6 separate regions of the Homo sapiens genome follow, and all the other regions are linked to region 1. The links are contacts of gene promoters, found by promoter capture Hi-C in blood cells and fetal thymus (Javierre and others, 2016). All regions are on one chromosome and are shown on one strand. The core of a region is centred on a gene start or on the middle of the fragment in contact, and the rest is flanking DNA. Distances in the headings are between cores, read along the strand shown.

Region 1 (4,963 bases), core at 1,695-4,194:
AGATATCGCGCCGCTGCACTCCAGCCTGGGCGACACAGCGACACCTCGTCTCAAAAAAAAATTTTTTCTGCTCATTGTCCAAGTCTCACTGGAACTATCCTCTTCGGAATACAAGCAAGTGCATATTTTCATGGTTGTGTCTCAGCAGAACACAAATCAAAACTTTCAGCAACACCAGACTCTGCAGAATATTCATGTATAACTTTTGATGAATCCACTCAGATTGCTTGCACTGTGATTTTCTTTGAAGTAAAAAGTGTTAAAACTATTTTTGAATTCCTAATTTACCAGATTCTCAAAATACCAAAATAAATTGGCACATAATTAAACAGCGATTTAACTTTTTTTTTTTTTTTCCTTTTTAGAGACTCTGTTGCCCAGACTAGGGTGCAGTGATGCGATCATGGCTCACTGCAGCCTCGAACTCCTGGGCTATATGCGATCCTGCCACCTCAGCCTCCCAAGCTGAGACTATAGACCCACACCATCACGCCTGGCTAATTCTTTTTTTCTAATACATGGGGTTTTCTTACATTGTCCTGGCCGATCTGCAACTCCTGGGCTCAAGCAATCCTTCCGAAAGTCCTGGGACTACAGGTGTGAGCCACCACGCTCAGCCTTTTTTTCCTTATTACTGTACTAGGGACATTTGTGGCTTTTCCACAATGAGACTTAGTAGAGAAATGACAGCTTCCCTTGGCCCTATCCTGAAATACACTAACTAGCTCTTCTCTGCCAGGGCTACCGTTTTCTCCCTAACCTTTGCAGATGTATGTATCCATATAAATGTTTCTATTTCAACAAACTGTAGAAAGTATACAGTCTGTACAGCTCCCCTTATAATGCTATTACCTGATGATCCTGACTACAAGTTGGAATTATCTGCATACTTGGCAAAATTCAAGTGTGGCTGCCTATGCCTCGAGAGAATGAGCAGCAAACCAGCCCAGTCCTAAATTCGAATAGCAGCTCTTAAAGAGAATAGGATGCTCTTGATAGGCTTTCTTTAGGACTGATATTCAATTTCTGGGCTTACCCCTGGGTTTATTTCTACAAGCCTATATAGAGTGTAACGCTAGAAAATATTCAGTGATGTTAAAAATAAGCATAGTTACTTTGACTCAAGACCAATTACTCTACACACACAGGCAAATTTCTGCCCAATGGTCTCAAGTTTAGCATTAGTTTTGCCCACTTTTTCTTTTATTCTTAAGTCAGTTTCACTCTTCACATGAGCACTCCACCAACACCATAAGGTTGAAAATTTTCAGAATGGAATTCCAAAAGAATTAAGAACCTACAGATCTCTAATTACAATTCTCTACAAAACAATCAACATCATTTTAGTTCCCTAGTAAGATGAGACAGACCTCAATACTCAAGCCAATCCAAGGAACCAGGCACCAGTCTGAAGGCCAACTTTGATATTCCAGTGACAGCGGTGCAGTAGAATACTTAGATCAGGGTCAGAATTTGGTTTTGGAGGCAGACATTTACCCACTAAAGTCATTTATCTAGCTGATCAAAAAACAGGAAAGTTCAAAGCGAGTATACACTGAATCTATTATCCATTTGAGAGCCACTGAAGCTACACAGCTGCTTATTTTGTCTTCAAAGAAGGAATTAGTCATCAGTACCTGCAGGTATAACTGGATTTCTAAATCAAACTCAGATTTTTAGGAGGGACACTTCTATGTATTAAATTGTCTTAAGATGGTAAGCTTGCCTTAAATGATTTGTAAACTATGTGCCAGGCATTGTGCTAGTGGTCAGACTGTGTAAACCAAAATGGGTTAGACATCACAACCAAGTTAGCATGCCTTGAAACCAGAGTATCCTAGAAACTGCTGCCTCCACTTCCTTAGGAATAAAGCCATATCCTTTCTAAATCTCAAAAAATCCTAGATGTGTAAAGAAATCATTAAATTCTAGTCCTCAAAGGACTGTATTTCCCCAAAAAAGACACGGATTCTAGAAAAATGGCAACAACCAAAAAGTAAACTTTAAAATGTTAAAAATGACCATCAGGAAATTCTAACTTCCCTGCCATGTTTCCGTGTTTCAGGATCTCCCCGTTAAAAGATTTTCCACACCTCTAAATCTAACAGAATAGCCAACTCTGGAATCCATACCTCAAAGACCAAAACCTAACAGGAGAATAAACTGTTCTCTTAACAAACATGCGTTGCAGACTTTCATTTTTGGGGGGGCCAAAACTTCAAAAACGAAAATCGTTGCTGAAATAACCATGAAATTCAACCCTAACAGAAACATCTTACGCCGCTCAACTCATCTGCAAGGTAAAGGAAGCACCTCTGCCTCTGTGCACGCTACAGGAATCTGTACTTCAGCATGACTTTCAGTTACCATTGGTGACACAAAGATACTGCTGGTTTACAGTATCTCCCCGGTTCTAAAGGCCACTCCATTTCAAGTCTTAAAGATTAAAACAAACACGAAAAGTCAAGGGACAAGGGTAAAGGCCAAGAGATCTCAAGCAGAAGCCGGCAGAAGGATACGAGCAGTGGCTCTCCATCTCTACCCCGAGCATCTCAAGGACTTGTGCTACCTAAACACTTTATGTAAACAAGGGGCTTGTGACTCAGGCCTCCAGCCCCAATAGGTGGAGAGAAGTTTCCTCGCCTCGGCTGCACATGGTCTGCAGAAGTTTGGCTGGAGCAGAGCGCGGAGCCTGGGTGGGAGCGGCAGTGGAGTGCTGCAGGCGGCGGCGGCGGCGGCAGAGCAGCAGGAGGCGGAGGCGGGCGGGGGGAGGGGAGCGGCTGGGGGGGGGGCGGAGGGGGCTCTTGCCGCCACTGCTCTCTCGCCGCCTCTCCCCCCCGGCGGGAGCCGCTCGCAGCCTCTTTGCACTAGTCTCTCCGCTCTCTCGGTCATGTGACCTTAACGTAACCGGACAGGAAAAGCCCCGCCGCCGCCGCCGCCGCCGCGCCGGAGACACCGACCGCGGCGGCAGCAGCAGCAGCAGCAGCGAGAGGCAGAGGCGGCGGCGGCGGGGAGGACAGCACGGCCGAGGCTGCCCAGAGGCGCCTCCTCCACACCCCCCGCCGCAGCAGCACCGGCGACAGGTAAGCGCGCACCGCCTCCGCCTCCCGGGGCCGGTGCCCACGTGCCACCCCCAGCCCAGGGTCCGGGAAGGCGGTGGGGGGGCGGGGGCCACCGGAGCTCGCAAACGGTTCCGGCAGAGGCGGTGGCAACAAAGACGACGAATGACCCTCGTACCAGGGCTACGGGTGCAGGCAGGCGGAAGGCCCGGGCCACTCGGGGACCCGGTTCTGGGAAGCGAGGGCAGGGGCGCCTCGCGGGGGCGGCGGCGGCTGCGCCTGGCGCCGGGGCTCTGGCCGCTTGACAAAACCATCCCCCGGAGCCAGGCGGCGGCGAGTCGGCGGCGCCTCCATCCGGGGTTTTGTGGGAGGGGGAGGGGACGGAAGCCGAGAGGGCGGGCGGCGGATCGGAGGGAGGGTGGGAGGGAGGAAGGGGAGGGGGGCGATTCGCGTTCGGTTCCCCGTGGCCGGTCCCTCCCTTCCCGCCGCCACCGCGAAGTGCGCCCTGGGCGGCGGCGGCCGGTGAGCGTCCCGCGCTGGAGCCCTCAGAGGCGGGCCCGTCAGGTGCGTAATCCTTCCGACGCCTCGCCGCCGCCTCCTGCTGCTGCCGCCGCTGCTGCTTCGGCGGCAAGGCCGCGAGCTGCGGAAGTGGGTTTGGGGGAGGGGAGGGAGGAGGGAGGGGGAGGGGAGGGATCCGGTCCGACCGGAGCAGGCCCGGCCTCTCTGGCGCTTCTCCCAGCTGCAGCGGCTCCTACAGCTGCTGCCGCTACTGCTGCGGCTCCGCCTCCCGCTCGCGGGCGGGGGCGCGCACGCGCGCTTCCGGCCTCCTCGGGTCTCGCGCTGTCTCCGGCTCTCGCGCGCGCTCATCCCTCTCCCTCTCTCCCTGTCTGGGCCACCCCCGCCCCCGGCGCCGGGGCTGTTGCGCCGGCCGGGGCGTTGCGCACGGCGTAGGCGTCGGCATTGTGTTAAACTCCGCGGGACTTGGGGCGAGCGCGCGCGCGCACGCGGGACTGAGGGAAGCGGCGAGCGTGCAACGCGGCCGGAGTGCGTCGCCCCTCCCTCCCCCTCAGCCCCTCGGGGACGGGGACAGGGAGGGGGCGGGGCCGGCGAGACCGGAGGGGGCCAGAGGGCCCCGGCGCCGCGCCCCCGGCCCCGCCCCGGGGCGGGTGGGACGAGGTGGCTGTTGCGGCGCGCTCAGGCGGGCGGGGGACGCGTCGGCCTCTGTGGCGCCGCCCTTGTCGCCTGCTCGCTGAGGCTGCAGGCCGGGCCCCAGTCCCGGGTACGGAGCGTGTTGAGCCGGCGGCCTCCAGCTTCCGCCCGACGCGCCATCTGCGCCTGCGATACAGCCCGGTTTGGCCCCGAGCGCGCTGTGCTTTCGGCTGCTTAGCCTTGGGGCGTGGGACCCGCGCGGCCCTCACGCCCCAACCGGACTCCAAGGCGGGGAGGCTGCTTCCCGGGGCCGGCGTCGTTTTCTCGGTGTAGCGAAACCTCTAAACCCTTCTTGTTTAAACAAAGCCGCAAGAGAGAACTTTTTAGCCAGAAGCTGCAAAGGAAGCTGGGTTTTGCCGCTTTTAGCTGGTAGTAAAAGAGGCAATAAAGAAGCGAGGGTAGCAGAGCAGGCGAGTGCCTGGGCCGGGAGAAGCTGCAGCTACGCCTTTTACTGCAGGAACTTCCACCCGAATACGTGAACTCCTAATTATGCCTTGGGGATATAACCCGGCTCTCGCTCCCCGCCTCCCCCAGCTGCATTGTTCATTAGCTCTTTCATCATACAATGGGTCCACTGAGTTTGTGAGCCTTGATTCTATTCATTTTATCAGGGTATTGTTTTAGTAAAATAAAGCATAAAGAAGGTCAGAATTATCAGAACTCCAGGGGGTCTCTGGGTTTGCTTAAACGCGCTG
Region 2 (4,963 bases), core at 749-3,248, 9.9 Mb before region 1:
TGGGAGGTGGAGGTGGATCACCTGAGGTCAGGAGTTAGAGACCAGCCTGGGCAACATGGTGAAACTTCGTCTCAACCAAAAACACAAAAAATCAGCTGGGTGTGGTAGTGTATGTCTGTAATCCCAGCTATTTGGGAGGCTGCAGCACGAGAATTGCTTGAACACAGGAGGTGGAGGTTGCAGTGAGCTGAGATCGTATCATTGCACTCCAGCCTGGGCAACAGAGCAAGACTCTGTCTCAAAAAAAAAAGCATAGGATTTAATCCATGAATTTTGAATTTCTATGTTAAATTTTTAGAAATAGTAACTTTTTCTCCCATATTTCTCAGCTATATCTGAGATAACTGGGACTGAGCAACATTGTCTAGACAGGCAAAGTGTTAGCAATAATAAGTATAATAATAATTGTAATGTAATAATGGAATGAGGATGTTAAAGTACTGAGATCAGGATAAAAGTTACAATTGTCCAAATTTTAAATTTCCTATCATTTCCACTGAAATCACTGACTGTACTTATAACATTATCAGGAATTTATGCAATTTGTAGGTTTTGAAATAAATTACCATTCAGAATTCAACCGTGAAAAACAGTGTAACTCTACTTGAAAAACACTTTGAAAAACTCAAGTTTCCACCAAATCTAGAAGCACATGGGTCGTAAAACATAGTTCGAAAAGTTACGAGAGATGATGACTACAAGGAACTTTTTATAAAAATCTTTTATAAGCATTACTCTGTGGTCAAATTTATTTTCACATGGATATTAAAACAAGTTATTGCTACAAATGGGTTTCTGTTCTGATCCTTTTTTTGTTTGCCTCACATATCCTTTCTCTTCCACCACATTCTGCTTCACTCTCCCCGTCTCTCATCACAGACAAGAAAAATGCCACCTCCCATAGGACCCACTCCAAACCCTGTTTCCTGAATGATCAATGCCTTCCCCCATCGCAATCAAAAAAGCACTTTCTATTCTGTCTTCATGACACACTGGTTTTGACACTTGCATAGCTGTTAGTAATTCTGCAATGTGCTTGGGCTATTTGTGAGCACATGTATTTTTCCTTTATAGATTATAAACATCTAAAGAACAAGGTTAACCCAGGAGTCAAGTAAATAGTTAAATATTATTTTGACAATGGCTGTAATAGTGGACATTTGAAAGGAATACACCTCAGTATTTTGAAATTGAAATAATTTTCTAGATCCTGGCATTTCTGGACTTTCAACAGCCCACCCTTTTTAAAAATTGTGAAGACACTTTTACTATAAAGGTCTGCCCAGACCCTCTCTGATACACCTGTGTAAATGCCACGTGCATGTGAGCATGCGACAGTACGTGTGTGCACGCCTGTGCAGTGGTAATCAACCATGGTGCTAAGGTTTGAAAACAGAAAATACATCAATCGACCTCCAAGCTTCTTTCATCCCACTTCATAACATCTCAATCTCTTGAGTGCTGAGGCTTATTTTGTTTAAGATGATTTGGACTCTTCTGAGTGCAACGCAATCTCCTTCCAGCACAGCGGACCGAGGAGAGGTGAGGGGAGAGTTTTGAGGGTGGGCATATTGATCCTACGCTTGCTGAATTAAAAATGAGCCAACTGAGGACAATTTCCAGGTTGCAACACAGACGGAGCCGGAGTCTGGGTTGAGGTTAGAGGAGCCGTTAGGGCGCAGGGATGCAACAGGATTTGGGAGAAAGGGGAGAGAAAGCAAGGCCACTTCCAGGGGGCTTTCATTTTTTTTTTATCCTGGCAGCTTCCCGAGCCAGATTTCAAAAGCGATTTCAAACGTGAAGCCAACTGAAGCACTGCCTTACACTAATTGGAAGGGGAAGGGAGTGACTCATATTACACCAGCTCGCTCTTCCCTCTCGGCAACTGCTAACTTGTAGCTTTAAAAGGAAGTGACATGGGTGGGGAGAGACGTCAGCTGAGGACCACTTTTTTTTTTTTTTTCTTCCTGAAGGGTCCACCCCATGGGTGGAGTCTCGCTTTTTCTTTCCAGTGTTGGCTGACTTACAGCTCTTATAAACTAGTGGCAATTTCTGAACCCAGCCGGCTCCATCTCAGCTTCTGGTTTCTAAGTCCATGTGCCAAAGGCTGCCAGGAAGGAGGTATGTGGTCCTGGTGCCGTTCGCAGGCACCTTCCCCGCTGGGTGTGGCTGATGTTTGCATTCCTCTTCCCAGCATATTTTTCTCTCCTGGGCTGGATTTCCTTAGGACCTCTGGAAGGGGTAGGCTCCGGGGGCGGGGGGGGAGTGCAAGGCGGGCGGGGGAAAGGTGCAGGGGGCGCCTGGAGGGAGGCGAAGAGAGGCTCTGCTGGTACAAAAGGACCCTCGCTTTGTGCTGGGCCGGGTGAGCGTCCCTTTCTGGGCTGTGATTTCAAGCTGCTGTTCCTGGCTTCATTTACCCACCCACCCAGCCCCCTCCCGGGGCTAAAGCATTTTCTCTGCTATAGACGAAGCTGGGCGGGGGGTGGTGGTGGGGGGAATGTTCCTATTACATATTGCTCTCTTTTGTGTCATGCAACATGTTCTTCCGTCGCTGACGTTTCTATGGCAACCACAAAAATACTACACAATATGCAGCCCCGATATACATTGATTTATTTGTATTTTGTGTCTAGTTTGCAGCTTTCTGCTCTGCTTCTTGCTTTGGTTTGCTAAAATCCAGCATGGCTTGTGGCTACCCCTCCTCACTTTCATTTTGGTTTTTCCCTATCACAGGAGGGGTGGGGGAGGGGAGTTGTCAAGGAAACAGGCATTGGTAATTACCTCTCTATTTACCTAATTTTCGGCCTATGAATTTCTCCATATCGAGGAATTAAAAAAAGAATGCTTTGATGTTTATGTAAGTCTTCAGTGTCTGGTCTTTTTTTAGAAAACCTAAACACTTCTTAAGATAAGATATTGATCCTGTGGTCAAGCTAAGGGGGAATTAATTCCTTACAGGAGGTGAGATCATTGAAATAAAGTTTTAGAGAGCATTGGAGAATTCGCACTGATAAATGTGATATTGCCTGCCCAGGTTTGCCTAAAAGCTTAAATATTTAAAAGATGGGTCTTTGCTCTCATCTGCACTTATTTAGCTCCAAATCTTAAGTTCAACAAGTATGAGTAACAAATTAACTGCCGGGCAGGATTCTCCGTTTTTCGTTTTCGTGCATTGTTCTTAGATGGATTAGCCACGCTATTCACTCTCTTCAAGGTGAGGGTTGCTAGACTTTTTCAAAACTGTGGAAGGATTAACTCATCTGTGATTAGTCAACGACTCTCAGTTGGAAAAAAAGTATCTTGAGAGAAGGGAGAATGTGTGTGTTTGTGTGTGTGTGTGTGTGTGTGTGTGTTTAGGGAAATGGGAGGCGGGCAGGGAGAACAGGGCACATCTTGAGTTCTACGTTAAAAGGATTCCATCTTCTGAATATTCTCTATGGGGAGAAAAACTGTTATTCAGAAAAAATATGAAATGAGAAAATTATTATCTACTTAGTAATAAGCAAAGTTAATTATAATTAGAATCAAATAACACATCTCTTAGAAAGACATAGCCTCTTAACAGGTACCGGCTAAACTGATGCTTTTATTCAGTACGTCTAAGGAAGCGTTTGATAAGGGATACCATTCTTCTGATGGGCATCCCAAATAATTAGCTTTTATAAAATAGATAAGTAGTAATCCCATTCATGACTCTTAAAATTATCTATAATTTAAGATAAACATGTGTGAAGGTCACTTAGCCCTCATACCTTCCGGCTGCTAAAGCCAAAATCATTACTTATAAACCTTGAGCAACCCTGCCATGTGGAAGCAGGAAGAATGGGTGGTTTCAGTGAGGTTCTGTTTGCTGTGATCCTTATCTAAATATGCTATCATCTATGTCTTATCAAATCTGCTATAAATCCAGAGGTCCTAAGTAATTCAGGTAGAAAAGTTACCTGAAAATGGGGCAAAATAGCATGGCACAAAACAAACCAGAGCCACATGGAGTTAAAGACGAGAACTATTTAAAGGGCATAACACACAGAAAAGTATTACTAAAAAGAATATGACACTCATTTTGAAAAGCACATGTTAGTACACAGAGAAACGGTTGGATTGTGAGCATCTGATGTTTGCAAAGAATTCTGAAAAGCAGCCAGGCTGAAATTACTGTTTTTCCTGTCTGAAAATGGTCCTCAAGGGCAGATTTGCCACATGACCTTCCAAAGCAGATTGACAGCATGTAAATCAAAGTCTGCGATGTCGGTTCTCTTGAGTTTCCAGATTCAAAATTTCACAGCAAAAAGCCTAATGGAATAGAACTGAAAGGAAAAAGAGCAAGACTTCCTCAGAAGCACAGCCAAAACAAAAACAACAAAAAACCCAAACCCAATAAACAAACAAAACACTGTCTGATATTCAGATGCTGAGTAGAGGTTAAAGCAGTTAGCAGCTTTGGCCTAGGGAAGGTAAGTGGAGCTGTGAGTATAAAGTAAACGTAGGGTCCCATGGAAGAGGCTGACAGAGGTGACACCCAGAGGGTGAGTCAGCCGTCATTTTATTGGGATTTTACTGTCTGCAAGGCTCTGCTGTGAAGTTGGTGAAGAAGGCAGCAGTTGTAGTCTGTGCTCTCAAGCTTAAAATCCACCAAACGGGTGGCGAAAAGAAGAGCAGAGCACCCAGCTGGAAGGAAGGGGGAGGCAACAGCCAGTCAAGGAGACGCAATTAGTATGAGAAGAATACTAGAGAGTCTTCATCCTGCTGCTGAAGCTTTATAGGAGAGGAGGCAGACGGTTCAAGGGAAGAAGGAGAGGGTGTCTTAGATAGCAAAGGTGGATGGTAAGAAATGGATCATGGTTCAGGGTTCTTAACTCCAAGAAGGGAGAAGTCAGTCTTTAGTATAGAAGTAGAGCAGGTATACTCTGTGCTGGTTGAAAGCATAAGTAGATGTAAATTGGGGACAGAAGTTTTTCTTAAT
Region 3 (4,963 bases), core at 1,792-4,291, 8.6 Mb before region 1:
AAAAAAAAATCAACTTACATTCCTATTCCTCAACTACATGCTACATTTACGGAAATTTTAGCCAGTTTTATCTCATAAAAGTACAGATGACTGATAACCTCCCCCGCCCCAAGAAAAGTTTTCAAAAAGTATTTAAGGAGAGGTATCAGTTTAAAACAGGAACATAAACCCAGCATGGTGCCTCATGCCTGTAATCCCAACACTTTGGGAGGCTGACGCAGGAAGATTACTTGAGGATAGGAGCTTGAGGCCAGCCTGGGCAACATAGCAAGACGTCATCTCTATTAAAAATTTTAAAAAATATATAATAAGCCAAGTGGGGTGGCACACACCTGTAATCCCAGCTACACAGAAGGGTGAGGTGGAAGGACTGCCTGAGCCCAGGAGTTCACGACTGTAGTGAGCTATGACTGCACCACTGCACTTCTGCCTGGGCAACGCGGTGAGACCCTGCCTCAAAAAATTATAAAACAGGAACAGACAGGAAGTTCACTTGGCACATGTTGGGTTTAAAGTAGAGATTGCAAGTGGTTCTGGAGAAGTCTGCATGTGCAACTACAGGGAAGTAACAGGGAAAGAGGTGGGTGAAAATCCGTCTCTGAAATGATTGGCAGATTTGTCATCCTAAGAAAATCTGGCAGAAAAATTAAACACAACTTTTAAGATATTCTAAGACTACAAAGGGCAGATCTTATTATATTCACAATGCATATCAACCTCAGAAACCTCTTCAGCATTTGCTAAGTATGCCCACGTGTGACAGTGGCCAGAAAAACGTAAAGATACAAAGGCCATTCCTACTAGACCAAGAGGCCGTGTTCCACCTGGAGATGAAGTTCGTGAACACAGGTTCAAGACACTGCCATGACTAACCTAATGCAAAAGTAAGGGTCCCATCAATCAGCCAAAGTATCAGTCTGCCCTTGAAGCCACCTTAATCTTAACTGTGAAGAAAACAAACTTCAATTTGTTAACAAGACCAAGACTTCAACCACACTAGGCCAGCTGGGTTAATTTCTTATTGTATTTATTTATTTATTTTTGAGACAGGGCCTTGCTCTGTCGCCCAGACTAGAGTGCAACTCGACTCGATCACAACTCACTGCAACCTCGACCTGCGGGGCTAACGTTATCCTACCACCTCAGCCTCCCTTAACTGGGAGGACAGGAGTGTGCCACCGCGCCCGGCTCTAATTTTCATATTTTTTGTAGAGACGGGGTTTCGCCATGTTGCTGAAGCTGGCCTCCAACTCCTGGACTCAAGTGACCCGCCCACCTCGGCCTTCCAAAGTGCTGGATTCCGGGCATGAGCCACCGCGCCCAGGCGAGTTAATTTCTTATTTTTGGTCACAGAAGCCATTATTCCAAAATGCCTTCCTCTAAATGTTGTTCTCAGCCTGACCTCGTTTAAGCTGCCACCATTTCTCTGTATCATACTAGTTACTGGAGTAACTATGTATCTTAGGGTAGCTAACTGGTCTTTAAACTAGTGTCACAAACTCTCCCTCCATCCACCCTTCCCCTTCCAAAAAAGGGAGCATAAAAAATATGGGCCTTTCCAAAGAGTTTCTATCGTGAGATCAGCCTCACCCTCCTTAGACTAATTTCTGCATGTTCTGAACACAGGGGTGCTAATAAAACTATCTCTGATGCATGGGAAAAATAAGAACCCCCCCCATAAACCCTACCACAAACTCCAAGTTCAGCCCAAAGTAGGCTCAACTTTGTTTCACTCTGAAAAGTAACTTGTAAAAGTAACTTGTAAAAGTAACAGTAACAGGGAGAAACTGTTGTCTGTTCAAAACTTTTCATCCTGCTTCCTTTTTACCAAAGTTTAAAAAAATAAACAAAAGCTGAATTTTCCATCATCCTAAACAGTCCAGAAAAGGATGGTCAGAAAATTCCTGAAATTCGAAGTTCCCCAGGCCCTGGACTGCTAGCAGTTGCGCGAGGTGAACAGCCCTCGATGGGACTGATGGGTTATACAATCATGGTTCCCAGAGCAAGATCCACTAGAATAATCCGCCCCGGAGACAATGACATCATGTGAGCAACCAGGCAGGAAGTTGGGCTCAGAGAAGTGAAGGGTCAAGTCTTGAAAGCTCACACTGGACGACACCCCCTGCCCCCAATCTAAAGAAGACAAAAGTCACCGCCTGCTAAAAATATATATATATATATATTCTTTAAAGAGAAAATGAGCCCACGGGGGGAAATCAATCAGCAAATGAAACCACAAACACTCAACTCCAGGACCATTCCTGCGGGCTCCAACGCCCCGGTGAGCCTCTCCACACCGAGGGGCCTCACCGGTGCCCCGCTGGCGAAACTCTGATGCAAACGCGCAGCGGGAACAAAGCAAACTGGAGTTCCTGCCTCCAACTTTCCCGGACGCCCGGCCGCGCGAGGGCAGGCGCCGACCCCAAGGGCCGGGGCGACCGCTCCGCACAAAGCCACCCCCGACTCAGCGACAGCCACAAGTGGCCGGACGCGGGGCTCCAGGACCGCCACGACCGCGTGTGCCCCCGCGCCCCCCGCCTGCGCACGGGACCCGGCGGGACTCGCGGACACCACGCAGGCAACTTTCCCTCGGGAACGGGGCGGACCCCGGCGCGGAACGGAGGCGACTTGGAGACCCCAGGAGCTCCTCGAGCGCTCCCCGCCCCCCACGCCGGCCGCTCACCCCGGGCACCGCGAGCGGAGCCTGCGTCCGGGCGGGCCACCCACCTGCACAGCTCGGGGAACGGGGCGGCCTGGGCCTGCGTGGACCCCGGGGCAGCGACGAGCAGCAGCAGCTGCAGCAGGAGCAGAGAGCGCTGCGGGCGGCGGGCGGGCGCGGGCCCCAGGTGGGGGCTCCGGCCGGCGGCGGCCCCCATCGCGCCGGGCCCGGACTGCGCGGCGGGCGCGAGGCTAACGGCGCGCGACTGCTGGGGGCCGCGCCCGGGACGGGGTCGCGCCGCCAGGGCAAAGGCGGAGGTGGAGACGGAGCGGGAGCCCGAGGTGAGCGCGGCTCGACTGGGCTCGGCGACAGCGACAGCGGCAGCGGCGGCCCCGGAACCGCGTCACGTGACAGCCGCCCGGCACCGCCCCCCCACCCCCGCCCCCCGCTCACGTGACTCCCTTGTTCAGGTGACCCCCGCCCGCCCCGGCTCCTCCCAGGCCCGGGTCACGTGAGCGCAGCGCGCGGGACAGGAAGCGGCGCGGGCGGGGCGCAGGCTCCAGGTGCCTCCCGGGGCCTGAGCCTCTCGGCGGGCTGGGCGCGGCGGGGGTGCCTAGCCGGGCCTCAGTTTCCCCTCCCACCGCGCCCTGCTGGATCGTGGCGGGTGCTTCCCAGGTTAGAGCAACTGTTCCCAACCTCGATCGACCAGTAGGGGAAAATAGGGAACTTGGATCAAAGTGCCAGGGAGGTAAATGCCTTCGCACAGCCTAGTGGCAGCGGATCCGTGGGGGGTGGGAACACACTTTAACTGCCCGTGGAGTCAAATCATGGGGGTTTACAACCTTGGCCCGTCAGAGCCTCTCAGACCTTCTGTGGGAATGTTATTTCCCAAGCGTGGGCTTCCTACAGCAAGGAAGGCAGCACAAATCCAGCAAGGTGAAAGAGTGGACAAAAGTGTCGCTGTCAAGCAAGTGCCACTCAACAAAGCTTTATTAATTCACTACGTGGATGGCCATGAGCTAGCCACAATGAAAGTAGAACGATGAATCTAAAAGTCTTGAACTAAAAAAATTCACTTTCTTTTAGAGTAAATATACAAAATAATCATGACTGAAAATAGTAATCATCATCATCATAAAAGCTCATCTTTTTTAGTGCTTATTCCATACCAGACACTGCTAAGCATGTAAGCATGAATCTTTAAAAACCTATGAGATGGGAACCTACTTATAGATGAGGAATTGAGGCACAAGGATACTCAGTGACTTACTCAAAGACACTCTGGGATGTGGCAAAGCTGGAATTCAAACACATATAAATAATCATGACCCAATAATAGCTAACATTTCTTGAGCAAGTAATTATGTACGAAGTACTGAAGTGTTCGGACACTGTGATTTAGCTCATTTAATCCTAACAGTCCTGTAAGAGGGGGTGCCTTTATTGCATCCGTTTTGCAGATAAGGAAAGTGAGGAATGGAGAAATTAAATAACTAGTTAGTCTTGCAGCTAGTAAGTGAAAAAGCCCGGGTTTGAGCCCAAGCCAGTCACAGGCCTGTGACATAACCACCGTGCTATTAATATATTGCCCAAGAAAAGAAAGTGTTGTAGTGGGTCAAAGGGAGAGCTCAGGTGTAAACTGTGGACGTCGAAAAAGGGTTTGTGGTGACCGGGCGCGGTGGCTCGCGACTGTAAACCCAGCACTTTGGGAGGCCAAGGCGGGCGGATCACAAGGTCAGGAGATCGAGACCATCCTGGCTAACACAGTGAAATCCCATCTCTACTAAAAATACAAAAAATTAACCGGGCGTGGTGGCACACGCCTGTAGTCCCAGCTACTCGGGAGGCTGAGGCAGGAGAATCGCTTGAACCCAGGAGGCAGAGGTTGCAGTGAGCAGAGATCGTGCCACTGCACTCCAGCCTGGGAAACAGAGCGAGATTCCATCTCAAAAAAAAAAAAAAAGAAAAAGGGTTTGTGTTTTGCAACTCCAGTGTTATAATGGATACAGGCAAAGACCATCAGTAAATACTAAAACCATCTGGTGAAAAATTATTGTGAAGCGGAATATTCTCTTTGTCTCAAAGTATCACCTTCAAAGTATACTTCCTTAAAAAACACAAAATACCTCTTCACAATGGAAAGATCTGGTAGAACCACCTTAATCAAGTAATTAAAACTAGTATCACCAATTTTTAAAAAACTAGCATTTTCTGCTTTCTAAAGTGATGCAATAAAAAATGCTAAAGGGTAATATTTAAAAGATGGTATAATCATGACTCAGATGTAGAATGAACATGTATCAA
Region 4 (4,963 bases), core at 984-3,483, 8.4 Mb before region 1:
GAACTTACCTGTATTGTTGGAACCATACTCCCAGCACTAAGCACAGTATGGGGCACATAGGAGGAACTGAATACATTTTTGTTGAATGAGTGACACTTTGAGGTAGTAAGGAGGAGCAGGCATACTTTCCTATGCGTCAGGCTGGCCCTGCTGCTGCTTCTTCTTCTTCTTTTTAAAAGGAGTCTCACTCTGTTGCCCAGGCTGAATGGAGTGCAGTGGCACAATCTCAGCTCACTGCAAGCTCCGCCTCCCGGGTTCACGCCATTCTCCTGTCTCAGCCTCCCAAGTAGCTGGGAATACAGGCGCCCGCCACCACACCCGGCTAATTTTTTGTATTTTTAGTAGAAACGGGGTTTCACCGTGTCAGCCAGGATGGTCTTGATCTCCTGACCTCATGATCCGCCCACCTCGGCCTCCCAGAGTGCTGGGATTACAGGCGTGAGCCACCGGGCCCGGCCGGCCCTGCTTCGTAAGAATGAAAAGGCAGTGGGCCGCCTGTAGTCCCAGCTACTCGGGAGGCTGAGGCAGGAGAATGGCGTGAAACCGGGAGACGGAGCTTGCAGTGAGCCGAGATCACGCCACTGCACTCCAGCCTGGGCCACAGAGAGAGACTCCGTCTCAAAAAAAAAAAAAAAAAAAAAAAAAAAAGGAAAAGAAAAGGCAGTGTAGGTGGTGTAGGTCAGTGGTCTAAGTTCATTCACAAAAAGCATATTAATGAAGCTAAGTCTTTTTGTTTGTTTAGAGAAGGGGTCTCACTCTGTCACCCATGACGGAGTGCAGTGACACAATCACTGCAGTCTCAAACTCCTGGGCTCAAGTGATCCTCCCACCTCAGCCTCTCCAGTAGCTGGGAGGCACAGGCCATCATACCTGGCTATTTTATTTTTTGTAGAGACGGGGTCTTGCTTTGTTGCCCAGGCTAGTCTCAAACTTCTGGACTCAAGTGATCCTTCCTCCTCCGCCTCCCAAAGTGCTGGGATTACAGGCGGGAGCCACCCTGCCTGGCCAAGAAGCTGAGTCTCAAGCTGGATAGAAGCTACTGACAGGGCTGGAAGAAGGGGGCCAACAGGAGGAATCATAACAGAGGGAACTCTGAGCAAAAGCAAGGAGGCAAGAACTTGAGTGAGTGAGAGAGTGTGTGAGTGTGTGAGAGTGTGTGTGTGTGTGTGTGTTTATGGGCTGTTTCTAATAAGCCTGACTTCTCCTGGAATCACTGAGACTTACCTGCTGCCAAGACATGTCCAAAGATGACCTCAGACACATCTTCCGGAGCCACAGTGGCCCTCTTCAAGACTTCTTTGATGACAGTGGAGCCCAGGTCCTGGACAGGAACAGCAGCTAAGGCACCATTGAAGGAACCTACAATAGAAAGGCGGAGAGCGTGGACATCACAAGCCTGCGGGTAATACGGGAACCACCTACGAGCAGGGGAGCCTCATGACCCTGTTTGGCAAGGCCACGCGAGGAGGCAGTGCCCTCTCCTCCCACACGTTCCTACACCTGCTGGTCTGAGCAAAGGTCAAGGTGGGTGCCACAACTCGCAGCAGCCGAGGGCTGGACAGGCGACCTCCAGAACGGCCTAGGGACGCCGCTGTAGCCCTTCTATTTCCCCAAATCCGAAGGACTGGATGCGACCCCATGCTTCCCAAACAAAAGGAACCGGCGGGTCAAGGGCGTTGAAAACCATGCGGCACGAAGGAGACGAAGTCACGACTTCTAGCCATTGTGTGACAGCCCGACCCCAGCCCAAAGCCGGGCTCAGACCACCTAGCAGTTCCGCCCCTGCCGCAGGCATTACCGATGGCGCCTCCCGGAGCCGGCCAATCAGGGGCCCCGGAGGAGAACACCTCCCTACGCCAACCAATGGGAGAGGCAGGCCACGCGATGGCTCTACCCCGGGAGCCAATCCAAGCACGAGGGACGGAGTGCGCACATCGGGAGAGGAGAGGGTGGGGCTGTAGCACCAGGTCAGGGAACGCGGGAGCCGCAGGGTTCCAGGGATCCCGCGGCTCCTCGCGGCTTGGCCTGACCGGCTTCCTCCACATACGCCCCTCTCCTACACAAGTCCGGCCCTCGGCGCTCCTGCCGAAGCAGCAGGCGCCTCGGACTCTGCGCGGCTCCCGCCGGCCACTCACCTATGATGGTCCGCGCCGCCGAGACGATGACCACAGGATCTGAGCCTGCATTCATCTTGCTTCTCCTGCCGCCGTCTGCCCTGCGCTGCCTGCAAGCTAGGCAAAGCTCCTCCTCGCAGCCCACAGGCCTGCCGCGGGCGGGACCTGAGGTAGCCCCGCCCCTCGCCCTCCACCTCCCCGCGCACCACCTCCCCGCGCATCCCACTGTGCGCAGGCGCAAGGCCGGAGCAGGGGCGGGCGGAGGCGCGCGGGGCGCGGGGCGCGGGGCGCGGGGCGGAAGTGAGGCCGGGGCGCGGGGCGCGGGGCGGAAGTGAGGCCGGGGTCTGGGCTTGCGGGCAGAACCGCGGACCTCGGACGCATTTACAGAGCGCCTGAAACCCCAGTGTTTCTGGACACCCCAATGTTGGAGTTCCCCGACTTGACGTCTTGGGCTTTTTTTTAAAAAATCTTAGGGTTTCTCGAAACAGTAAAGACTGGGGGGTGACAAAGACTTATCTCTCGTTCAGCTCAGGACTGGAATCCCACGGGCGAGAATCTCGAGTGCGAGCCCGGCCCGCGGCGGGTCTCAGCACAGCTCTGATGGGTCCTTTTGCTCTCGGCGGCTTCGGGAGGTCCTATGCGTTTCTCCTGGCGCCAGTCATTCGCTCGCGTGAGGGGCTTGCTAGGAGCGTCTCGGTGCGAGCCCCCTGCCTTCTAAGATCAACTCTGGCTGTGAACGGGTGAGGACGCCGGGAGCGTCTTAGCGTCACAAAAGTTCCTTTGGTTGACGTTTGGACAGTGAAAGGAGCATGTAACAAGTGGGGTCAGTTTTGTTTAAAACCCTTTCTGACTTCCCAGCCTCTTACTGGGCAAAGTTCATAATTTTTCTGAGCTTTCTAGGGTTTCCAGGCAAGCTTATGAGGGGCCACCGTTACAGCAACTTGTTGGGAACACCTGGATAGTGGAACAAGAAAGCTTTGTCACAAAGTCATGAAGGGGAAAACTGTTGACGGACCTGGAGAATCTTCCTGAAGAACTTTAAAGTTGATTGAAAGAATCATTAAATCCTGGAAACCTACATTAAGACTTTGCAGAGATATGCGGATGGGTCAGATAAATCAGAGAAGGTAAAGAGTGTAGGCCCCAGAGGTGGGGCAATAGAGAAGGAAAAAAATTGCATAACAGTGCAATTTCAGGAGAAATCTTTAGGGTCTGGAATAGTGGTGAAATCAGCTGTCTACTCTGCTAAGAACTCAGCAGCACACTGAAGTCTCTTCAGTTGTCTTCAATGTGTTTCCTGTCCCCTAACATATCTGAGTCCAAGGAATTCAAGGAATGCCTCCCGTGGCTTTTGCTCTATTCTATCCCATTTTCCCCTTACTCCCTGGCCACTTCTGAGTCTTTGTGGGCTTACTCTCACATCCCCTTAACATGTTCCCCAAGGCTCCTACTTTGCACCAGCTCCCTGGGTAATACCAGTCATTCCTACGGCATCAATCACCACCTGTATACTGACAAGTCTGAAATCCTTACATCTAACCTCGTCTCCTAAGCTGACTGACCCTCTTCATTTAAATTCTTACAAGCACATCAGGTCGGGCACCTTGGCTCACACCTGTAATCCCAGCACTTTGGGAGGCCGAGGAGGGCGGATCATTTGAGGTCAGCAGTTTGACACCAGCCTGGCCAACATGGTGATATCCCGTTTCTACCATAAAATAGAAAAATTAGCCGGGCGTGGTGCCGTGCGCCTGTAATCCCAGCTACTGGGGAGGCTGACATGGGAAAATCGCTTGAACCTAGGAGGCAGAGGTTTCAGTGAGCCGAGATCACACCACTGCACTCCAGCCTGAGCGACAGAGAGAAACTGTCTCAAATAAATAAAATTTCCTATAAGCACATCAAATTTGACATATTGAAACCAAACTCTTCCAGCCTGTTTCTTCTGTAATCTCAGTGAGCAGTGAAACTATCTTCTGTTAACCAAACCAGAAATTTACCTCTGAAACTCCCCCTAAACATCACTTCTTCCAGAAAAACCTTCCAATCTCCTGCATTTGGTGCAGCATCTTACCCCTAACTTCCTCTTTCAACTTACCATGTAATTCCTAGTTTATCTGTCTCCTCTACTGACTACATAAGCTTTCCAAGATGATCCTGTTACACTGCTTTATGCACAGCTCCTAGCACATTATAGGCAGTTATGAATGAACACCAATATTCTTTATGGCCAGTGCCTAGCACATTTGAATGAGTATGAATATATTCTTCTGGAGCCAAGGGATATAGAGTTTCCTGCCTGAAGGCTCTATCTAGAGTAAGTTTAGGAGCCAATCTTGAGAAGGTAATTGCATGCTTCTGCTGAGTGGCCAAACAGAATCTGTCCCCTGAGGAGTCCTCATTATAGCTACTCATATGATTATCTACTCATATGAGACAGACAGAGACTAAGAATAATGAATGAAGGAAAGAAGAGGAATTTTTTTTTTTTTTTTGAGACGGAGCTCGCTCTGTCACCCAGGCTGGAGTGCAGTGGCGCTATCTCGGCTCACCACAACCTCCACCTCCCGGGTTCAAGCGATTCTTCTGCCTCAGAGTCCTGAGTAGCTGGGATTACAGGCCCGTGCCATCATGCCCAGCTAATTTTTATATTTTTAGTAAAGACGGGGTTTCACCATGTTAGTCAGGCTGATCTCGAACTCCTGACCTTGTGATCCGCCCACCTCGGCCTCCCAAAGTGCTGGGATTACAGGCGTGAGCCACCGCGCCCGGCCAGCTGGAAGATAATTTTTAAAATTATGTCTTGGCCGGCCGCGGTGGCTCATGCCTGTAATCCCAGCACTTTGGGA
Region 5 (4,963 bases), core at 1,140-3,639, 8.3 Mb before region 1:
TTAGCATCATAAAGTTAGGTAACTCAGTTCCCTCTGAACGGAGGCAAGCGCCAGCCAAAACAACTTCAGTAAGAAGACACGGTACCTTGGCGAACAAATCATAGCTGAATGTAAGACACCAATCTGCAGACACTGTAGTAGCAAGGTACTGATGAGGAACTGAAAGGCCATCTTTTCCTTATCCTCTATCTGCCATGTGTGATTCCAAGCAAGTCTTTTAACTCTTGCAGTTTCCAAGTCAGCAAAAAGATAATTTTGCCTGTCTCACAAAGTGCTGCAAATATTAATGCTTTCAGCACAATAAAAATGCTATAGATTTTTCAAATAAAATATGAACATAATATGAACATAAAAGGCAACTTCAATGTGCACTTAGAAAAGATTAAATTCTATTAACTACATCTTCAAAGGCAGAAAATATTTACAGCAATATATTTTAGTCAGATGGAACATCTTGTTATACACAATACACAATGAAGTTTACTATTGTGGAGATACTGAAAAGTTTTTCTGTGTTAAGCTTAGTAACTACAAGAAGCAAAATATTTAGAGGCAGAAAAGTTGGAGACAACTAAAAAAATTAAAAACAAGAATAAAACCAAAATACTATCTTCAGTCTTCTTTTGCTGAAGGACCTACTAACTAACGTACAATTTTGAGGAGCAAGAAGCAAATACATAATGATCAAAACTGCTAAACAATATATTCAAGGGGATTCAATACTACATACAAGACCATAAGAGACCTTGAACGCTTTAATGTACTGTACAAATTGTGACAATGCTCATCTCCACATCACAGGGCTTTTTACACATTGTGTTTCATCTCTACCAGCTTATTTCTGACAAACAATACACAAAAATATTTTCAGCAAACATGACTCAACGTTGAATTGGAAAAGCTAGACATAAAAGAGCCATGTAAAAATAAGCAGTGCCTGGGACACACTATTATTATTACTTTTATCCTTTAGGAGTTAGCAATTCTGGTAGCTTGTCCAAATTCTGCCAATGAAAAAGTACTAAAAATACTGAACTTTTAAACCATGTGTCTGCTTAAGATACCTTAACATATAAAAGCACTGTAAGAAACACACCTACCCAAACCCTTAAAATGTAACCTCAACCTTATCACAAGCCAGCTTTGCGGACTGCAATCTTTCCCCGACTTGGCTAATCAGATGCTACTTGAATGAATTAAAATGTATCCATCTTGAAAAGATTTTTCGCTCATAGTTTTAAATTACGGTTTTAAATGTCCACAACATGTTTATCTATCGTAGAAAACTTAATGGTCAAAATTTTAAAATCCAAAAAACGAGAACTTGCGATGGATCTATGACGTCCACTTATCTTCCGAAGCAATGGAATTAACTAAAACTAGATAAAATAGGCACAAATACAACTTCCAATTGTAACATACTCATAGAAGTATTTCCCTACCAGACTAAATAATAGTTTTTTTGTTTTGTTTTGTTTTTTTTACATAATCACAGTTATGCTAGTCCTTGATAATGTTAAGCTAATCCTTTGGGATCAAACAACCAAGTGACTTTCTTATCAAAACAAGAACTCGGGCTTTTCCATTACGTGTACACAGACTTATGAAAAACGGTGAAAAAAAAATCTAGTAACTGTCTCACAGGGATCCAAGGTAAGACTTGGATTTCACAAAAATCTGCAATAATTCAGTTTCTTTCCTCAGAATGCTTATACTCATTTAAAAATGGAAGTCTACAAGAGAACGTAGTAACATCCTACTGCGTGACATGAAATGTAGGGAACGAATGTTTCTTTTTTTCCTTGCTGAACTCGTTAGTGCCGCCAGGTCCTCAGGAGAGGCCCAAGGGAGGTGAAGGGGGCGACCCCGAGGCGAGGAAAAAACGAGCGCCGCCGCTCAGCCCGGGGAGGGCATCCTCCGGCCTCCGTGAGTGGCCGGTCTCTCCGGCCGCCAGAGCACCCCTCTCAACCCGGGCCTTGGGGACGGAGGACAGAGATAAAATGGCCTCGAAGCGGCGGAAGTGTTCCCCGCAGGCGGGAAGGTAGAGCGGCTCACGAGAGACCGGTGCCGCACCAGGCCCGTGTGGCCTTTCGGGCCCTGCCCGCCCCTTACCCGCCGGGGGCGGCTGCGCATCAGCCCTCAGGCCCCGGAGGTCCCCCGCGTCCGCTCCCGCCAGCCGGCCCGCGCCTACCTCTCCAGGCAGAAGCCGCGCCGGCGCCACCGGTCGCATAGGCCGAGGCCGCGCTGCTTGCCCTGCCGCCCGGGCCCCCCGGGCCACCGCGCAGCCGGACAGCTCTGCCGCCGGCCCCGCCGCGCTCCTAGTCCCGCCGCAACCCCTGCGCTCCCCTTTATTTGTGGGTCTCGCTGCCACAAAATGGCGCTGAGGGAGGAAACCAGGCCCCGCCGCCCGGCCCCGCCCCGCCGCACGGCTCCGCTCCGCCCTGCCCCGCCCCACAGCCGGTCCGAACGCGCCGCAGGCCAGCGCCACTGCCTCCCGCCTCCCGCCTCCCGCCTCCCGCCAGCCTCCCCGCTCCGCCATGTTCGCCTTCTGGCCCACTCACAGGAGAGTCGCCTTTCAGGCGTGGCCGCAGTCACTCGCCCGCCGCCGAACCCCGCCAGGAGAGGAAAGGTGAAGGGAGGGAGGCCGTCGGCCTAGCCCGATCGGGGCCTCGAGGCACAATGGAGCAGCTGCTCCCCGGTAACACTCCCCGTCCTTTCCCAGGAGCCTGGCGCGAGCTCCGCGGGCCCCGGAGCTCAGCAAGCTCAGTAAGGGAAGCGGCCGAGGGGAGGGGCGGGCCAGCGAGGTCGGAGGTCAGCCCCAGGGCATCACGGGAAGGGAAGGTGGAAGTACTCGCCGGGGCCACCTGCGGCTGCGGGGCTGCCTCGTGCGGAGGGATCTGGGCGAAGGCGGCGCGTGATTGGCCGCTCTGTGTTCGTGACGCTCATCCGTGATGCTTCCGCGTGTCGGAGGACCAGGTGCCACCTCAAGAGAGAGGCCGTGGGCGGCGAGCCGCGGGCGTTTACTCTTAGCAGAAGCTCACCTGTAAGTTTTGAGAACTTAGAAACCGATGCCTTCCCTCTCATCAGTCGTGAGGCGCAGTCTCCTGGCCGCTGGGTTCGTTCCTCCTTGACATCTCTGGAGACGCATCGAGGAGCTATTGTTCTCTGGCGTCGGAGGTTGCGCTGTGTCCGCGGCGTTGAGGGCCCCTTGCTAACTGGAACACGGGGAAGGCGGCCCTGTGAGGTTTAGTGAACTCAATCAAAGAGGTCCTGCAAGTGGAGTAGACTCCCTGAAGTAAGACTGCCATCTGGACCGCCGAGTAATGGCGGTGTTACCTGGAGAACGTGAAACAGTCTCTAAACACTTACTAGAAGAGCACGTAATTCTTTTGATTGGTCTGTCCTTAGCCGGCTTTATCAAACCTGTTCATCCCCAAAGGAGTGTCTTGTAGTAAGGTGATTTATTAGGATAAGATTAAAGTACATTCCAGATGGTCGTAGTATATTTCCAGTGAATCAGATCGGTCTGGAGAAAATCTTTGCAACTCGTATCACAAGAGCTCTCAAAAATTGAAAACAAAAAGTGCAAAAGCCAAAGGAGAAAATGGGGAAGGACATGAACAGATGATTCTCAGAAAAAATACCGTAATGGTCTTTAAACATAGAAAGTCGCTCCACCTCACTTACAATGGAAATACACGTTGAAATTACCTTTCCTGGTGGGAGTGGAAAAATGGTTCAAGTTCCACGGAGTACAAAATTACTTGTGTTTATTCTTATACCTTGCAGTTATACTTCTAACCCTAACCTTATTCTGAAGGTGCAGCTCCACACATGGAAACAATAGGTATACAAGGTTATTGCAGTGCTATTTGTCATAGCAAAAGTTAGGGATAACCCAAATATCCGTTAATAGGGAACTGATTGGGAATGGTGCATCCATACAGTAGAACACAATGCAACCATTAAAAAGATTCAGGAAATAATCGTGTGTTGCTTTGGAATGAGTCTCAGGTTGTATTAAGTATTCACTTAAATATTTAAGTGTAGTAAGTATTCACTGTATTCAAAAGCAAAAATAAGCATATATGCTTTTATGTATTTACTTAAATACATAAAAATATATATTTATATTTAATATGAATATTTATGTGTATATGCTTATTTTCGGGGAGGAATTGGAAGGATATCCTGGAAACTTAACATTTTTAGTTGCCTATAAAGAGTGGGGGGTGGAGACAAGATTTCTCTGTCTTTGAACTTTTAGTTTTACATAGCCAAAAAAGTAAATAAAAAAGGAAACAAAGTAAATCCTAAGGTTGAAAGCAAATTGAAACAAATGAACTTAACTGTTAACTAATATAACTAAGATACACAGAAAAAATAATTATTCTTTGGGTTTTTTTTTTTTTTTTTGAGACAGTCTCACTGTGTTGCCCAGGCTGGAGTGCAGTGGTGCAATCTCAGCTCACTGCAACCTCTGTCTCCTGGGTTCAAGCGATTCTCTCAGCTCAGCCTCCTGAATAGCTGGGATTACAGGCATGCGCCACCATCCCCTGCTGATTTTTGTATTTTTAATAGAGATGGGATTTCACCATGTTGGCCAGGCTGGTCTGGAACTCCTGACCTCAGGTGATCCGCCTGCAGGTTGGCCTCCCAAAGTGCTGGGATTACAGGAATGAACCACCACCACTGGCCCCTCTGAGCTTTTGAACACAGTACTCTAGTAGTGTATCTGTGTTGTGATAGTGTAGTCTTTCCTTATATGCAGGAGATTGGATTTAGGACCTTCTGCGAGCATATACAGAAATCTGCATACTAAAGTCCCGGAGCTGAGCATAGGGAAAGTTGGTTCTTTGTGTAGGTGTGTTTTGCATCCCACTGTACTTCTGTTTTGTTTTCTTCCTTCCTTCCCTTTCCTTTCTTTTTCTTTTCTTTTTTTCTTTCTCTCCCTCTCTTCTTC
Region 6 (4,963 bases), core at 709-3,208, 8.3 Mb before region 1:
AATTTCAGAAAAGTGTTCTTAAAAGCAGATATTAAGCCCTCAATTTTTATTAATTTTAAAATGAGTAAGCAAACTGTAAGATGTTAAGATTATTAAATTATCTCTCATTAAGCATGTATCTTTCCCATTTTAAAAATTCAGTTACTATTGATTTATTAAAAAACAATAGAAAAGTTACATCTATTTTTAGAGTGACTCTCAAGAAAATTTAATAAGGGAAACACAGATCTATAAAAAACTGTTTGTAAACCTAACAAAGGAAAAAAAAAGTTGGTGTCTTTAAAAAACCCTTTGAGATTAGCTGTGTATTCAGATATCAGTTGGTTCTCTCCTTTCTGAATCGCTAAACAACTGGAGCTTGTTTCAGAAAGCAGCATTGTCTACGTATGTTCCTTTTAAAAATTTTTTTTTTAATTCTGTCTAAAAAAAACAGACGGGGTCACACTATGTTGCCCAGGCTGCTCTTGAATTCCTGGGCTCCCCTATCCACGCACCTCGGCCTTCCAGAGTGCTGGGATTACAGGTGTGAGCCACCGTGCCTAGTCAGACATACTTTTTTTTTTTTTTTTTTTTTTGACGGAATCTCAGTCTGTCCCGCAGGTTGGAGTGCAGTGATGTGATCTCGGCTCACTACAACCTCCGTCTCCTGGGTTCAAGCAATTCTCCTGCCTCAGCCTCCTGAGTAGCTGGGATTACAGGCGTACGCCACCACGCCTGGCTACTTTTTGTGGGTTTTTTAGTAGAGACAGGGTTTTTCCATGTCGTCCAGGCTGGTCTGGAACTCCTGACCTCAAGTGATCCGCCCATCTCAGCCTCCCAAAGTGCTGGGATTACAGGCGTGAGCCACCTCACCTGGCCTTGTATGTATGTTTTTTTCTTTCTCTTTCTTTTTTTTTTTCTGTGACGGAGTATTGCCCTGTCGCCCAGGCTGGAGTGCAGTGGCGTGTTCTTGGTTCACTGCAACCTCTGCCTCCTGGGTTCAAGCCATTCTCCTGCCTCATGCTCCTGAGTAGCTGGGATTATAGGCACGCGCCACCATACCTGGCTAATTTCTGTATTTTTAGTGAAGACAGGGTTTCACCATGTTGGCCAGGCCGGTCTTGAAATCCTGACCTGAAGAGAGCTGCCCGCCTCGGCTTCCCAAAGTGCTGAGATTACAGGCGTGAGCCACCGCACCCGGCCCAGACATATGTTCTTAACGTACACTTTCAGAACAGCAGTTGAGAACTTTTTCCAAAATGTAAGCTCCTTGAGAGCAAAGCTCTCAGTGGGTCTCTGTGTCCTTTACTTTGCTTCTCTTGGTATCTTGTGGATAATATGCACAAAATATTTATTAAACAAGAGGATTTCCATTTTTTTCTAATATTAATAGTTCATTTAGTCTGTAGCTTCTTGAAGGCATAGAAAAGACTATTTTATTTTGCCTACTTATTTGGCAAGGTACCCATGCAGTATGCCAGGAGTTACAGGGCCTATTGAGAAGGAGTAAAGGGTCTGGGAGGGGTGGCAGGGAGTTGCTAATTCATGTATGGTGGCTAGAGAAGGCTTCACTGATGGGGTTGATGTTTCAGTGGAGACTTGAAGGAGGAACAGGAACGCAGCATGAGACTGTCTTGGGGAAGAGTGTTCAGCAGAGGCAGCAGTGCTCAGCTAGCCTTGAGGGGAACATCCAAGTTGGTCATGTGAGTGCAAAAAGGCCAGTGAGGCTGCAGCTGCGTGAGCACGTGCTCAATGACGGGGTCAAGTGCAGCGCCTCTTGGTAGTAAGAGTAGCTGAGTGTAAACACCTAGGGTTCGCTCCAGTGAGAAGGGGAGCCTTTGGAGGGGGCAAGGCCCACCCCCACCCCCCAAAACTGAGGGGATAGTGGCACCAGTGCAGTGAGAAATACTGGTCCTCTGTCCCAATGAGGTGGCAGTAGAGTTAGGGAGAAGGGATTAGGTTCTGCTTGTGTTTTATTTTTTTCTTTTATTTTTCTCTGTGTGCTTTTATATAGATTGGATGTATTTTAAAGGTAGAGCTGGCTTTGCTAATGGATATGCTGGTGGATTGGATGTGGGGTGAAGGGAGAGGAGTCAAAAATGACATCAGGTTCCCAAGGATGTCCTGAGGGACAGAGCTGGCATTTACTGAGACGTGGAGGACAATAGGAGGAGTAAGTTTGGGGTAGAACATCAGGAGTTCAATTTTGAGTATGTTGAGTTTCTTGTTAATGTGACTTGGAGATATTTCCCAATGAATCGTCGTCTGTCTTGAAAGTGAGAGTTGAAGGTTTTCTGTACAGTCTGTATGTTGAGCCATACATTTTAGCATTCTATTATTTTGATTGTCCTCTTTGGTGTTTCATTTCCTAAAATCTCTTCTATCTAAGAGATCCCTGAGCCTAGCAGCCAGGAGTGAATTTTCTAGCTTTTCCACCTCTGCTAGGTCCTTCATCAGTTGTTCAGCATGTCTGGGACAAATAATTTTGGGGCGGGGGGGTGCTGAATTTTAGGACAAACGGATGTTATAGATAAGCTGGTCCCATTATCTAATAGCTTACAAAGAAAAAAATATAATGTATACAGTGGTTGAAAAAGTAGGAGTTACAAAAAAATGTGTTTGCATTTTAACTTTTCAGGAGATGTTACAGCCCAGATAGCTCTTCAGCCTGCACTGAAGTTCAATGGTGGTGGTCATATCAATCATAGCATTTTCTGGACAAACCTCAGCCCTAACGGTGGTGGAGAACCCAAAGGTTGGTATATATTGGTGCACCCTTATCTACATTTTGTGCACAGTAGGAATCGATTGTTGATTTACTGAAGTTACCTTATACTTGTTTTTTGTTTTTTTTGTTGTTGTTTTTTTGAGACAAGAGTTTTGCTCTTGTTGCCCAGGCTGGAGTACAGTGGCGCAGTCTTGGCTCACTGCAACCTCCGCTTCCTGGGTTCAAGTGATTCTCCTGCCTCAGCCTCCCAAGTAGCTGGGATTACAGGCGCCCGCCACCACGCCTGGCTAATTTTTGCATTTTTAGTAGAGATGAGGTTTCATTCACCATGTTGGCCAGGCTGGTCTTGAACTCCTGACCTCATGATCTGCCCACCTTGGCCTCCCAAAGTGCTGGGATTACAGGCATGAGCCACCGTGCCTGGCCTAAGTTACCTTATTCTTACCAGAGGTATCATAGTGGCATATTTTTCATAACAACGAGTATGATAAAAGTTGTAACTTTCAAAAGGACACAAGTAGGAATGGAGAATGCTTTCATGGGGTTATGTCATAAGATTTTATGTTCACGCCAACATAGAATATCACATCAACTCCACCTTCTGGTTTCTGGATGGTACTTCATATTAGGGAAAGACTGAGAGACTTCATTTTATGAACTTTTTTTTTTTGAGACGGAGTCTTACAGTCGCCCAGGCTGGAGCGCAGTGGTGCAATGTCGGCTCATTGCAACCTCCGCCTTTCAGGTTCATGCAATTCTTGTGTCTCAGCCACCCAAGTAGCTGGGATTACAGGCATGTGGCATCACTCCCGGCTAATTTTTATATTTTTGGTAGAGACAGGGTTTCACCATGTTGGCGGGGCTGGTCTCGAACTCCTGGCCTCAAGTGATCCACCCACCTTGGCCTCCCAAAGTGCTGTGGTATGGATGTGAGCCACCGCGCCAGTCTAGAAAAGATGAACTTTCTGTCTACTAGTTTCTAGGGCCTGGATTAGATAGTTAACCGTCTGTACCTTTTTTCATCTATGTGATACAGGGATAACAATGGTGTTGTTTTGAGAATTAAATTATAGTGTCATTTGCTATTTTTCACTCTTTCCTAACTGATAAAAAGTCAGTTGTTCCAGGAAATTAGGTTTTCTGGGTATTTTTAAAAAGTGTTCAGGGAATGAGGAGAGTACAGGGCTAGATGGTCTTGTTCGCTATCACTGTTTCCTTGACTTCCTGTGTAGCTTGTGGAGGCCCAGATGACTTTAATTATCTTCTTCACCCAGGGAGGGCATGAGGCGTAAATGTAGTTCTTGTCTCTTGTTTCTGGGCTCCGGATATGCACCCTAAGTTTCTGTGGTTTTATTGTTCATTTTTAATCAGTGTTATGGAAGGCAGCCTATCTTATGCACTTGAAATAAGCAATTTCATTTTAAGGTAATGATGAATGAGGAGAGTAAGCTTGGGAAACTGGGCAACTTTTTCTTTATTTTTGTTTTTATTTATTATTATTTTGGAGATGGAGTTTAGCTCTTTCGCCCAGGCTACAGTGAAGTGGCTTGATCTTGGCTCACTGCAGCCTCTGCCCATCCCGGGTTCAAGTGATTCTCTGCCTCAGCCTCCCGAGTAGCTGGGATTATAGGTGCCTGCCACCATGCCCGGCTAATTTTTTTGTATTTTTAGTAGAGAGGAGTTTCTCCATGTTGGTCAGGCTGGTTTTGAACTCCTGACCTCAGGTGATCCACCTGTCTCGGCCTCCCAAAGTACTAAGATTACAGGTGTGAGCCACCGTGCCTGGCCAACTTATTTTTTTTCTGAGTTCAGTCTTCTAGACTATCGGTTAATACTTTTGAAGTTTTGTCAGTTACCAGAATATCAGATATATTCATATGCAACCAGTGGTTTTGGTATGCTGCCATTTTTGTTTAATCTGTACCACATTCCATCATTTGTGCTTATAAAGATGATTACTTTTAAACCCGTAGAATAAGAGAAGTGAGATTTTGACCCAGTTGATTTAGTTGATGTGACTAATCTAGAATTATATTCTGTATTACTACAGAATAAAAGGATTACAGCTCTTAAAGTATACCCTTAGTTCAGTCGTAGAGAAAACTGCCCATCAAGACAGGAAGAGCTGGGCTGCCTTGGAGAAGAACAATGACTTTATTCCCAAATGGAGGCGTAGAAGAAGGAGGGTAGAAGTCAAAGGAAAATTTTCTATTCAGGGAAAAGAAAAAGCTAACAGAAAGTAGTATTTCTTTCCTA

What was found. The method cuts DNA at HindIII sites, captures the fragments that hold promoters and counts their contacts. A CHiCAGO score of 5 or more calls a contact.
Region 2: the fragment with the promoter of AGPAT4 here is called in contact with the fragment with the promoter of ZBTB2 in region 1 in 1 of 17 cell types (total CD4 T cells); the score reaches 6.2 in total CD4 T cells.
Region 3: the fragment with the promoter of IGF2R here is called in contact with the fragment with the promoter of ZBTB2 in region 1 in 2 of 17 cell types (fetal thymus and naive CD4 T cells); the score reaches 6.0 in fetal thymus.
Region 4: a contact is called between the fragment with the promoter of ACAT2 here and the fragment with the promoter of ZBTB2 in region 1, in 3 of 17 cell types (naive CD8 T cells, non-activated CD4 T cells and fetal thymus). The highest score is 9.9, in naive CD8 T cells.
Region 5: the fragment with the promoter of WTAP here is called in contact with the fragment with the promoter of ZBTB2 in region 1 in 2 of 17 cell types (fetal thymus and total B cells); the score reaches 7.7 in fetal thymus.
Region 6: a fragment that was not itself captured here is called in contact with the fragment with the promoter of ZBTB2 in region 1 in 1 of 17 cell types (activated CD4 T cells); the score reaches 5.3 in activated CD4 T cells.

What each region holds. Positions count from the first base shown.
Region 1 is chr6:151,389,540-151,394,502 of GRCh38, reverse strand. It overlaps ZBTB2 (zinc finger and BTB domain containing 2), which reads left to right and starts at 2,944. Exons shown (of 3, transcript NM_020861.3): 1 at 2,944-3,083. It overlaps LOC124901232 (translation initiation factor IF-2-like), which reads right to left. Exons shown (of 3, transcript XM_047419613.1): 2 at 4,031-4,549; 3 at 1-3,798. The coding sequence ends at 2,899. RefSeq lists an enhancer at 2,059-2,931 and silencers at 2,913-2,972, 2,983-3,372, 3,453-4,382. The HindIII fragment of the contact is 3,903 bases long and covers 1,724-4,963 here.
Region 2 is chr6:161,271,096-161,276,058 of GRCh38, reverse strand. AGPAT4 (1-acylglycerol-3-phosphate O-acyltransferase 4) reads left to right here and starts at 1,998. Exons shown (of 9, transcript NM_020133.3): 1 at 1,998-2,121. The HindIII fragment of the contact is 1,627 bases long and covers 1,423-3,049 here.
Region 3 is chr6:159,967,160-159,972,122 of GRCh38, reverse strand. IGF2R (insulin like growth factor 2 receptor) reads right to left here and starts at 3,041. Exons shown (of 48, transcript NM_000876.4): 1 at 2,728-3,041. The coding sequence starts at 2,876. RefSeq lists silencers at 2,421-2,550, 2,571-2,850, 2,861-3,480. The HindIII fragment of the contact is 4,184 bases long and covers 1-3,648 here.
Region 4 is chr6:159,759,315-159,764,277 of GRCh38, reverse strand. ACAT2 (acetyl-CoA acetyltransferase 2) reads right to left here and starts at 2,233. Exons shown (of 9, transcript NM_005891.3): 1 at 2,136-2,233; 2 at 1,225-1,359. The coding sequence starts at 2,190. SOD2-OT1 (SOD2 overlapping transcript 1) reads left to right here and starts at 1,946. Exons shown (of 2, transcript NR_037166.1): 1 at 1,946-2,284; 2 at 2,642-4,020. It also overlaps a transcript of SOD2 not described here. RefSeq lists enhancers at 352-852, 2,921-2,980 and silencers at 2,261-2,410, 2,431-2,490. The HindIII fragment of the contact is 5,525 bases long and covers 1-3,030 here.
Region 5 is chr6:159,724,932-159,729,894 of GRCh38, reverse strand. It overlaps WTAP (WT1 associated protein), which reads right to left and starts at 2,389. Exons shown (of 8, transcript NM_001270531.2): 1 at 2,192-2,389. It also overlaps a transcript of SOD2 not described here. RefSeq lists a silencer at 1,971-2,520 and enhancers at 1,983-2,580, 2,531-2,660, 3,011-3,100, 2,581-3,178. The HindIII fragment of the contact is 6,285 bases long and covers 523-4,963 here.
Region 6 is chr6:159,685,897-159,690,859 of GRCh38, reverse strand. It overlaps SOD2 (superoxide dismutase 2), which reads left to right. Exons shown (of 5, transcript NM_000636.4): 3 at 2,618-2,734. Among named protein-coding and RNA genes, the nearest start is that of SOD2, 4.9 kb to the left of the region's middle. RefSeq lists a silencer at 3,293-3,543. The HindIII fragment of the contact is 4,400 bases long and covers 1-4,158 here.